Regions from separate parts of the Homo sapiens genome. Here all the other regions are linked to region 1. Evidence: promoter capture Hi-C in 16 types of primary human blood cells and fetal thymus (Javierre and others, 2016). All regions are on one chromosome and are shown on one strand. The core of a region is centred on a gene start or on the middle of the fragment in contact, and the rest is flanking DNA. Distances in the headings are between cores, read along the strand shown.

Region 1 (3,696 bases), core at 76-2,575:
GTAAAATGCTGTCTCTACCCTTTGAATCGATGTCATGGCCTATTAGTGGATCCTGATCCTTAATTTTAAAGACAATGCAGTAAATCAATCTCAGGTTTTTGTTGGTGCGGGGACCTGACTTATGGTGAATGTGAATAACATCACAGTTGTTCATTTTTGGTGATCTCATGTTTGGTCCCACTCTTCCACAGCTTTCTCTAGGGTCCCTCCTTCGCTTTCCAGATTTTAAACTCTCCTCAGATTACTTAACAGTCTCCAGATCCTAATTTTTTATTCCAACAAAAAGAAAATCAATTTGCAAAATATAATACCAATTTATTAATTCACTGAGATTTTTAATGAACCAATAGGGTTGTTTCAATCACCTCCTACTAAGATTTAAGAAAATGAAAATATGACTACAGGGTTGCATGGTAAACACAGAAACCAAAAAACACGTAGTGATGGTCTATAGTGGCTTAGTCGCCTTTCTCCTGTACAACTGAATAATCTACTTTTGTCCTCAAAGATCAATTCCTGCCCTCCCAGTATTGAAGAGCACTAACAAAATTGGTACTCTTCAGCCCTCCTTTTCTTGAAACCCAGACGGGGGGTAGGAAGATGGGGTGGTGTTAATTTAATCCTAACACCTGAAATTACTTCCCGGGCTTGCCGTAATTTTCTCAAATACAATTATGTGACGGTATCAAGATCACTTTCATCCATCAGAAAGGAGATAATAGTTTTAGGTTGGATTTTGTAAATATTCAGCAACATGAACACAACACCTTTTCTTATTCAGTGTGCGATTTTACTTTTGGCCCTTATTCTAGGGTGGGCCAAAGAACCAAGCAAAGAAGGCTCCGCTTCCACCTTTATTCCTATCACATACTACCTGGAAACACTCAGCCTTTTCTGGATAGGCCCAAGGTGGTTATTCACAAACCTCGGGTCTTTTGATCACTTTCTGGGATCTTAACAGTTGTGGAGATTATACTGAATGATCCCAAGTCCAGTCTGACATAACAAAAAATGTCCACCTTTCAGCTGGGTGGGCGCGGGGGAAGAAGGAAGAGCTTAGAATTTAAGTCCAAAGATGTGGAAACACCAGGCTCTTCCCCGTCCAGGCAGCTCATCAGAGCCTCGTTAGCTGCCTTAAAAGCCCATTTTATTTCCGCAGCGGGCCCGCTGGTGAAGGCAGAAGGCTCAGTCCGTCCGCCTCCACCTGCTGCCACGGCAGCGCGAACCGACCCCACGCAGCGATGGCCACGAGCTGCCCAAGACCGGCTCGCCGCGCCCAGGCCCGCGTTGGTCGCCCCTCCGGGCCCCAGCGCCGGGTGCTCCGCCTCCCAAGGCCGGCGGCGGCATGGCGGCCAGGCAGATCTGGGCACGGACGGGTGCCGCGCTCTGCAGGCAACCTTCCGCCGCCCCGCCGCCAGCACCTCTCTGGGTAAGAGCTGGGTTCCGACAGCAGCTCAGCTTAACCCTCTGCCCTGCTAACGAGGGAAACTGCGGCGGCTCCGCGCCCAGCACGCCCGGTAGGCCGGAGAGAGCGGCGAGGCCTTCGGTGAGCGAAGAGTTAACCGCGGCGGAGCGACAGATCGCGGAGCTGCACGCTGCCGCCTGCGCGGTGAGACTCCCTCCTGCCCGCCCCGCCCCGCCGCGGCCGCCCCGGGCTCGGCGCGCCTGCGCATCCCGGGCCTCTCCGGACCCGGAGGCCGCCCGGCAGAGGCAAAGGTTGCTGGATACCGGTGCGGTCCTGCCTCGGGCGACATTCGCGCACGCACACGAACTTCCAGCCCCGACATTTTCGCGGGAAACCTGTGTCTGTCTTGAGTATGAGTGTGATTTGTTTTCCGATCAGCGTCCGAGCTAAACTCCGGTCGCAGTGTGGGACCCACTACCACTCTTTTGTGGTGTATGTGTGTGTGTGTTGCGGAAGGGGGTGTTAAGGAATTGATGGAGAAGGTGGAGGGACTGAGAAGTCACAACAAAAATGTGTTGTGTGTTTTTCTGCATTGTCAGTTGAACACTTAGCAATCCAGTGATTCTTAGAGTGAGAAAAAAAGACATTGACACATTTATTTTAATTTTTCCATTGCCTTCTTGTCCTTTCTCTTAACTCTTAACGGAGCAGAGGGAACTACAATCTGGCATTTGTAGACACTCAGCTGTTTTCTCCTGTTTTGCGGATTTGACAATTGTCTGTTAGTACCAGTATCTAAACTTCTCTCCCTTTACGCCTTCTAACACAGTCTGCGTGAGTTTAAAGGCAGCATGGTTACCTTTACAAAAGAAACAGTGAGAAAAAAAGAGAAACTGACTATAATAAAGATAGAAAAGCAGTATGAAATGAACCCATTTAATAAGCTATGTGTGTGTGCCTCCAGTACTTGATGGGACTAATATTATATGGTATGACTTGAGCCAAAGGGGTAGAGAAGAAAATCCCGGAGGTTGCCTAAAATTGACTTATTTAAATAATGACAGTTAGTAGGCCCTGAGAATCCACTGTCGGTCTGACCCATTCAAGTGCTGAAACTGAATAAAGACTCATTAGGAAGTGACTGGCAGCTTTTGATTGTTCTTGTTTATGCTCTCCTTTTAAAAATAATGTATATAATTTGTTCTCATACTTCGCAATATAGATATGGTGGATATTAAAGAAAAGTGTCATTCTCCTTAGAGCAAACACCAGTATCATGTGAAGAAATTTTCAATCAGTCTAGGGAAGGAAAGGAACTTTTTCTCACTCGGGAAATTCACATTTGTTTCATCAGTGTCAGTATCACAGGTTAAATGACTATCCAGGTGACCATAAGTAAGCCCAGTAAATAACAAGCTGCTTGTTTTTCTTTTTCGACAAATCTGAGCCCCCTCACTATGGTCCTTCTTCCAGCCTCAAAGCAGATAGCTCTCTTACCTTTCTCCGGGTACCGATGCGCATCACTGAGCATCTTGCTCTCCAGTCAAACTGTCAGCACCCTTGCTTCATCTTTGTCTGTGGCCACCATTACGTGAGGCTCATTTACTGAGGACAAATTAAGTTTGTGTGGGCAGCCAGCAAGCTCAGAGGTGCTCAATCAACATGGAAAGCTGTAGAGCAGGGGCATGCGCAGGAGCAATCTGTTAGGCTTCCAGGTTGCCAGATAATTGCCCTCAGAAGACTCCCAGAAGCTATGAAAAGTAAAAAGAAGCCTGCTACAGAGTTCCTAGTGTTTTTTTGTTTTTCTTCCAAGTCTCCAAACACGAGCTTCGTAAATAAATAAAGAAGTGAGGCCCTGACAATCGGTCATTCTAAGGTAGTGCTGAGTGCTCCTGATTTCATGTAATCTGCTTCTGTGGTCTCCCTGGACTTGGGAAGTCTCTCTCAGACCAGCCTTGGGACTTGCTCGGATTTCTGCTGCCCTGTCCTGCTCTAGCTTTGCTGGGATGCCTTAGAGTGAGGCTAGATTTCAACTGTACCCGTCCTTTTGCTACACACTTTTCTCATGAAACATATTGGGTTAAAACCTCAACCAGAATAAAATATTCTGCCATTAAATGAGACACTGAAGAAGTTGTTGGTGGTTCATACAAAAATGTGTTTGTCAGAAGACATGCAAGTTTCATGTGTATTTTAATGAAAAAAACTCTGTACAAGATTGATGCACTGAGTTACTGCGTGGTAAAAAGGTTATACAAAAAGTCCATGGGAGTTCCTCTACAAAAACCCAA
Region 2 (3,581 bases), core at 20-2,519, 260 kb before region 1:
GTTGGGCTGTATACTTAAAAAATTAAAAATGGATAAAACGTTAATTTCGAACATTAAACACATTATAGTCTCCGTGATATATAAAAATATGAGTATAAAAAGCTTAAAAACAAGTAAATTCATTGATTTTACTTTTAATTTACATAAATTACTTTTAATTTATGTTAAGAAATGAGTCCTTGACCTTAAATGCCACTATGCATGGAATTTATAGCAGATATATTTTATATACTGTATATATAAAAGAATTATTCAAGACAGATTCAAGTAAAGCAGCTTCCTCCATAAAAGAAGACTAAGATCATGAAAGAGAACTTGAATTATGTTTCTTTTATCAGCCCAACGGTCCCAGAGAGTGAACCAAAACAGAGCTGGTAACTTAGAGGTGACATCACCATCAAGTTTTCATGAATTGTCATAAACAGTTGATAATAAATTGACATCAAACATAGAAAACAACTCCCCCAAAATACTAAGCCTTTATGATAACAATTTGTTTTTAAAGCCAAATACTAAGTTAAAAGATAGTAATGTTAATTTTTACTCTAACTGCAGATGTAGACTATTATAAAATTAAATGTAGAGGCCGGGTGCGGTGGCTCACGCCTGTAATCCCAGCACTTTGGGAGGACAAGACGGGTGGATTGCTTGAGGTTAGGAGTTCGAGACCAGCCTGACCAACATAGTGAAACCCCGTCTCTACTAAAAATACAAAAATTAGCTGGTTGTGGTGGCAGGCGCCTGTACTCCTAGCTACTTGGGAGGCTGAGGTAGGAGAATATCTTGAACCTGGAAGGCAGAGGTTAGAGTGAGCCAAGATTGTACCACTGCACTCTAGCCTGGGCAACAAAGTGAGACTCTGTCTCAAAAAAAAAAAAAAATTAAATATAAACTATTATAAAATTATAGCTCATAATTACTAAACATATATTCTATGCAGATATCATTCTAAGCACTTTATATATATGTATTTCCTTAATCTTTACATCAACCCTATGAGATTAAGGCTACTATTGCTCCTACTCTACACTTAAAGAAACTGAGTCAAACAGATTACTTGGTCATTAAGAGGTGGATATAAATTAAATAAAACACCAATATTTTTCAAAAACATATACTCAGATTTATTTCTAATACACAAATACAGTAGCTTATGCTTCACTCACATAGCTTATTCCCTCACTTTCTTTGGATCTCTGCTCAAATACTACCTCACTGAGTTGGGCACAGCGGCGTGTGCCTATAGTCCCAGCTACTTGGAAACCCAAGGCAGGAGGATCCATTGAGCCCAGGAGTTTGAGACCAGCCTGGGCAACATAGCAAGACCCTGTCTCAAAAAAACAAACAAACAAAATACTACCTCATTGGAGAGGCCTTCCTTACATAAAATGGAAACCTGTCCATCACTGTCTACCCTGTAAACCCACTCACTTTATCCATTATGTAACCCTAGCTAATAAATAATTGCTATTTGTTTGCTCACTTGTTTACAAACTGTTTCATGCCAGTCGAATATGGTTAATGTCTAGAAAGTGCCTGGCACATAGTATGTGCCTAATAAACATTTGTTACATGAATTAATCCTGATAAAATTTAGTTCCAAAGCCTATTATACAATCTTTTTAATTTTGAGGACAATATCCATTTAAAAATATCCTTTTTAATCTTAAAAAAAAATCATGTTTAAAAAATGAGGAGGAGGAGCTGGGGAGAAAGAAGAAGAATGTTTCACTTCAATAGTAAGTTAAAAAATAGCAGATAGGCAAATTAAAATATCAAATGAGTCAAACTGAATTTCTTGACATCTCTAAGATGTGTAAGAAAAAAATTACTTGTGTCATTGACTAGCACTTATTCTCTGATATTACTGCATCATTTATCCACCCTTACTCTTTTAAATGCATATATTTTTCAATATGTAAAGTGCATTTTCAACTTTTAGGAGTGAGCATATCAAATTACAATTCAAAATCTCAAAATCGTATTTTTGAGATTTTCGTGAATTATAAATTCATACAAATTATATGTACAATTGTATGTATTTTTTTCAATTGTAGAGTAATGGAAATAACCCAAAAATTAGAATCAAAAGACTCAATTTCACATTATCTGTCTCTAACTAGCTGTTTGGCCTTGAAGTGGTCATTTAATCTCACTGAAAATACCTTTCTCACTGTTAAATGTTAAACAGATATCCTACAGAAATCCTGAAACTCCTTCTACTTTAAATGCTAAAATACAGATTAAGGTTTTTATTTCTACTATAGGAGAAGAAAACATTAAAAATATGGTTTTATTTATCAATTAATCAAATTTGTGAGGAAGAAAATTCATAAAATATTGAATAATAGTTTTTGCTAAATAAATACATCATAGATTATCTAAAACTATATTTAAATTTGTATTTAAAAATTTAAGTTGAAAATATTAAATTTTTGAAGCTTAAATGAGAAAAAAATTATAAAATCTAGCAAAATACTTCTGAATATTTTTCTATGACCCAAGAAAAATCTTTCTCTCCCTGCCTTTACCATATTAATAAAGACCTTCCAAAAGAACATTTTAGTGAATGTCATAAAACCTGTGATTTATAAAAAATGCTACTTTGACTTTTAAGTTATTATCAGCCCAAAGAGCTGCTCTAAATCAAACTATTATACAATCTACTCCCAAACCACTACTTGGCAACAAAGATGAATCTACCTATTACCAGGTTAGGATAGCAGCTATTATCATGGCCCCTTGATTTCTTTCAAGTGGCTCCAATGGAAAAAGCCACAAGTGAATAATAAAAATCTCATAATAGCTCTTAAGAATTCTTTATATGGTAGAAGGCACTAAAATGAACTCTGGAGAGTTAAAAAGAAAAAAAAACTCTCATCTCCTGATAAGAAAAAATAATTAACCTGACTTAATGCATCTGAGAAGGCTTCCTATAAATCAGACTTTTGTACTTCAAGAGCCAGATTAAAACCATACATCAAAAACGTATGTAGATATTGTCTTATAAGTACACATAGCACATTTCTAAATCTGCAAAGGTTTTTAGGTCTTTTTGTGAAACACTCAATACCTGCTACTTAAAAGAAGTGTGAAGTACTTACAGTGCTTAATTTGCTCGAGATAATCACGATGCGCCTTTCATGCAGCATACTGGCATACAGCTGCAGCATGTTGTTCACATCCACGGCAACAAAATATTCTGTAAGATTTCTCTGTACAAGTAAAAGATAATTGTGTAAGTTACAGCTCATAGTGAATGTGAAGAAAAACATTTTACACACTTACCAGAAAGTCTTGAAGTTCAAAGGGTATTATTATTTAAAATGGTATTTATTAAAATAATTAAGTGTAATACTAGTCGGCTGCCACATAAAGTACATAATATTCTATTATTAGTTGAAACATAACCCTACTCAAGGTAAGTATTTGCAGAGGATGATCAGATCACAGATTTCCCAACTTTCTTACCCGCTAAGTATTTGAAAAGAAGCTAATTTCCTGGGACCCAACCTAGAGCTGCTCTGTTGAATTGTCATCTTTAGTGTATGTCCCCAAGAATCTGCTTTTTTTTTTTCTTT
Region 3 (3,741 bases), core at 166-2,665, 280 kb before region 1:
AAATAGATCCATTACATAAAGTAAATTAAAATAACTCGATTTGAACCAAAACCAAAAATTTTTATTCAAAGTATATGCATCTTTGCCATATGTATTATATTTTTTCCAGTCATGTTTTTAATCAGTTTTGTATGGCAAATAATGTATTTTGATTTCACTTAGGATGTTATCATTAAAGGATTTTACTACCTTGTACTTACAAGCTTTAATAGGTTATGATAGTATTCCTTCAATAAGTATTACTTTTTAAATTCCTTAATTAGAGCCTACAATATGCCACTAGGAGGCATTCAAATACTTCCATTTAACAATTATAGACCATGGATTTATTTATGTTACAAACTGCAGCTAGAGGGAAATGAAAATGGGGTTGATCTAACTCATTGTGTCAAATTCTCCAAGAGCTCTCAGGTACTCCTTAGTTGTAAATTAGGCCTCTTTAAGACTGTATTAACTCTTTCCACCCCCTTTTTAACCTGATGGGCTAAAAGAGCTTATGAAGCGTTGAAAGGCAGCTAATTATTCAATTTCTCAATCTGCACACAGATGACTTTTTAAACAGCTCATTTAAAGCCTTAAAAACAACAAAAAAGAGAGAGTGTTCTTTTTTTGTTACTGAGCAAATAAAAACTGTAGCAAGAGGAAAAACACGTTCTTAATGTGAGGTATTATATTTAATACCTCACTTTATTTCACTGGGCAATTTATTTCACTGGGCATACCCAGAGTCCAAAGCACTCTACTAAATGCCATGTAAATACTTTCCCTGCCTCCTTACTGGTCATCCTTAAATGAAGTTTTATTAGTTATTCGCTAACAAAATTCAACATTATCTGATGAATTTGACTGATTTCTTAGAGGATGGTTTCTGTAATTATATGCAGAGTCACAAAATTTCTGCAATGGCCAGCATCTGGTAGAGGGTTATGCCTGCTAATCAAGATCTACCAGAAGAGAACCGAGTCTACAGGACTTGGCAACTTTCTGGATGTGGGGTATAGGTGACAAGGAGAGGAAAAAATATATGACAACTCCTTCCCAACCACAGTTCTGGAACTAAGCAACCAGAATGAATTATTAAAGGTAATATAGCAAAAGTGTCAGGTTTAAGTAGAATTATAAGGAATCTGCTTTGGCAAATATTTATTCTGTTAACCATGAGACACCTAAATGGAGATTTCCAAAGAAGACGGAAGCATCCCAAAGATAATCCTCCATATTCACCTAGTAGCATGCAAGAGCTGTGAAACTTAAAAAAAAATGAGAAAATACTATTATGGCATATTCTTTTACAGATGATAGCAAAGTTGCAAGTAAATAAAATAAAACAAATTTACTAGAAAATGTAACACATTCATATGTAAATTGCATAAAATCATAACATGTATATTACAGACACAAAATTAGGGCTCTGCCACCAACAAGCCATGTGATCTCTGGCACATCTACAAATATAACCATGTCTCAGTTTTCTGATCTTTAAAATAAGAACTCTATGCTAGATGATCTGTAAGTATTTTCTCTCATAGATCAAACATTCTTTATTTTTAGATCAGATGAATTCTATCTTTTTTATATTCTTATGTATTGAGATTTCTTCTACCCTGGTGGCTAACGGAATACTATGACTGGACTATAATTCAGATCCACTTTCAAAATATATCTAAAAGTTTAAGTGCTTTAAAGTGCTTTAATAAAGTAGGTGCTCTAAAGTCCATAAGGTAATTATGCAACTGAAAATATTATAATAATTTTTTTGCTTAATTCAACAAAAATTTTGAGTGCCTGCTATATGCAATCGAAATCCCTATGAGGCAACAGGGACACAGTACTAAACAGAACAAAGTCCCCGTTTCTATGGAGCTTATGTGTTAGTGGAGAAAGCAAACAATAAACAAGTAAAATAAATATTGTCAGAGATTAGATCTATAAAGAAACCTAAAGTAGGGAGTGATGGGGGTGGGGAGCTATTTTAGATAGGAGGATTACAGAAGAACTCTAACGTGGTGACATATGAACTGAAACCTAACTGAAGGGAGAGAGTAAACTCGTGGATTTGGGAAGAAGAGCATTCCAGGTAAATTAAACGAGGCATTCAGAAGTCCCAGGTGAGAACATGCTTGGCATCTTCACAGAGCAATGGGGAAGTCAGTGAGATCAGACTGGAGGAAGTGGGAGAATGGCAGGAGATGAGGTCAGATAGAGAAGCAGAATCAATGATGGAGAGCCTTCTAGGACACGGCAAAGACTCTAAATATTATTCTCGATGACATTTTTACATACCTCTGAAGAGAGTGCTATCATAATAAACTATTTACCTGGAACATTTGAGAATATACAAATTAAAGAAAAATATACAAATTAAAGGAAAATAGAGCCTTCTAGGACATGGCAAAGACTCTAAATATTATTCTGGATGACATTTTTACATACCTCTGAAGAGAGTGCTATCATAATAAACTATTTACCTGGAACATTTTGAGAATACACAAATTAAAGGAAAATAAACTACATATTTTAGAAGTTTGGTTTGCAATATAAAGTACTACAAAGAAATGAGAACAATTTAATAAGCCAAGTAAGAAGAATCTTATTAATTTAACATTATTTATGATATATTGAATCTTTAAGCTTAAAGAAAAATGAAATATCATATAGTCTTTCTTTGGGCTAGAATTACCCAAGTATCATATGTCTGATTAGTGACAGGGCCAAGACTCCACATTGCTTTTCTAATATCGTCAGTTGCTTCTTTAATACCACAATTGTTCCTCACGAAAGCAGAGAAAAGGGTAAAGGGAAGAATTTCCATGTTTCAGTTCAAACATATCTCTGGCATTATACCCTGAAACTGAATAATACACTGTTATAATTTTCAGATAAAAATGAATTTACCAAATAAAGGTTTATGGAAAAAAATTTCTTATCTTTATGTGACATATGATATTTAAAATGCACATATATTTTCATAAAGCATACCCAATATATTGAACTAATACAGTTCCAAAGAGCTGACTAATGCAAAATAGAAACATTGGTAATACTGATTTACTATGGACTTCAATTACAACATAAGTATATATGGGAATCATGAGAAGGGACAAGAACTAATGCCTGTGAAACCAGACAGAGAAACCTGACAGCAAAGGTCTGCAACAGTTAACTCAGTCATAGAACAAAGGCATTTGAAACTTCTGGTCCCAGGTCACCAGGTCTAAACATAGGTAGTGCCATTGAAAATAATAGCAACAACAAATGTTTACATAATGTTTACCATGTGCCAAGAACTGTTATGAGTACTTGAACTACTCATACCTAATCCTCACAACAACCTCATCAAGTACTATTATCATTACTTCTACTTATCAGATCAAGGCACTAAGACAAAGTTCAACCAACTGCCCACGATCACAGAGCTTATCAACAGCAAAGCCAGGATACAACTGGAGGCAGGCTAGATCCAAAGTATAGTAACCACTATTTCAAACTGCCTTCAATATACAAAGATTTTAAATTATCATCATTATGAGGCTTTGAATAGCATCCACTGACTGAAAATATTGTGTTTTATACTAATTGTATAATAGAGAATGCATCTTTGGACCGGACAATCAAACAAGAGCCATTGACCTTTGTATGAGAAATCTATGATAGACAGAGATCTGATTTACAAAACTTTCCTCAGGCAACACAGACTGTAACTACAGCAGGTAACTAATAAAACAGACTCTCCCAGAAAAT

What was found. The method cuts DNA at HindIII sites, captures the fragments that hold promoters and counts their contacts. A CHiCAGO score of 5 or more calls a contact.
Region 2: a fragment that was not itself captured here is called in contact with the fragment with the promoter of C1orf53 in region 1 in 2 of 17 cell types (M1 macrophages and M2 macrophages); the score reaches 6.7 in M1 macrophages.
Region 3: a contact is called between a fragment that was not itself captured here and the fragment with the promoter of C1orf53 in region 1, in 16 of 17 cell types (megakaryocytes, M1 macrophages, M2 macrophages and 13 more). The highest score is 19.3, in megakaryocytes.

Annotation. Positions count from the first base shown.
Region 1 is chr1:197,901,305-197,905,000 of GRCh38, forward strand. C1orf53 (chromosome 1 open reading frame 53) reads left to right here and starts at 1,326. Exons shown (of 3, transcript NM_001024594.3): 1 at 1,326-1,609. The coding sequence starts at 1,346. RefSeq lists silencers at 1,211-1,360, 1,531-1,780. The HindIII fragment of the contact is 7,446 bases long and covers 1-3,696 here.
Region 2 is chr1:197,639,607-197,643,187 of GRCh38, forward strand. DENND1B (DENN domain containing 1B) reads right to left here. Exons shown (of 23, transcript NM_001195215.2): 10 at 3,105-3,215. Among named protein-coding and RNA genes, the nearest start is that of DENND1B, 130 kb to the right of the region's middle. The HindIII fragment of the contact is 2,339 bases long and covers 101-2,439 here.
Region 3 is chr1:197,618,944-197,622,684 of GRCh38, forward strand. All of the region lies in intron 10 of DENND1B (DENN domain containing 1B), which reads right to left. Among named protein-coding and RNA genes, the nearest start is that of DENND1B, 150 kb to the right of the region's middle. The HindIII fragment of the contact is 2,428 bases long and covers 202-2,629 here.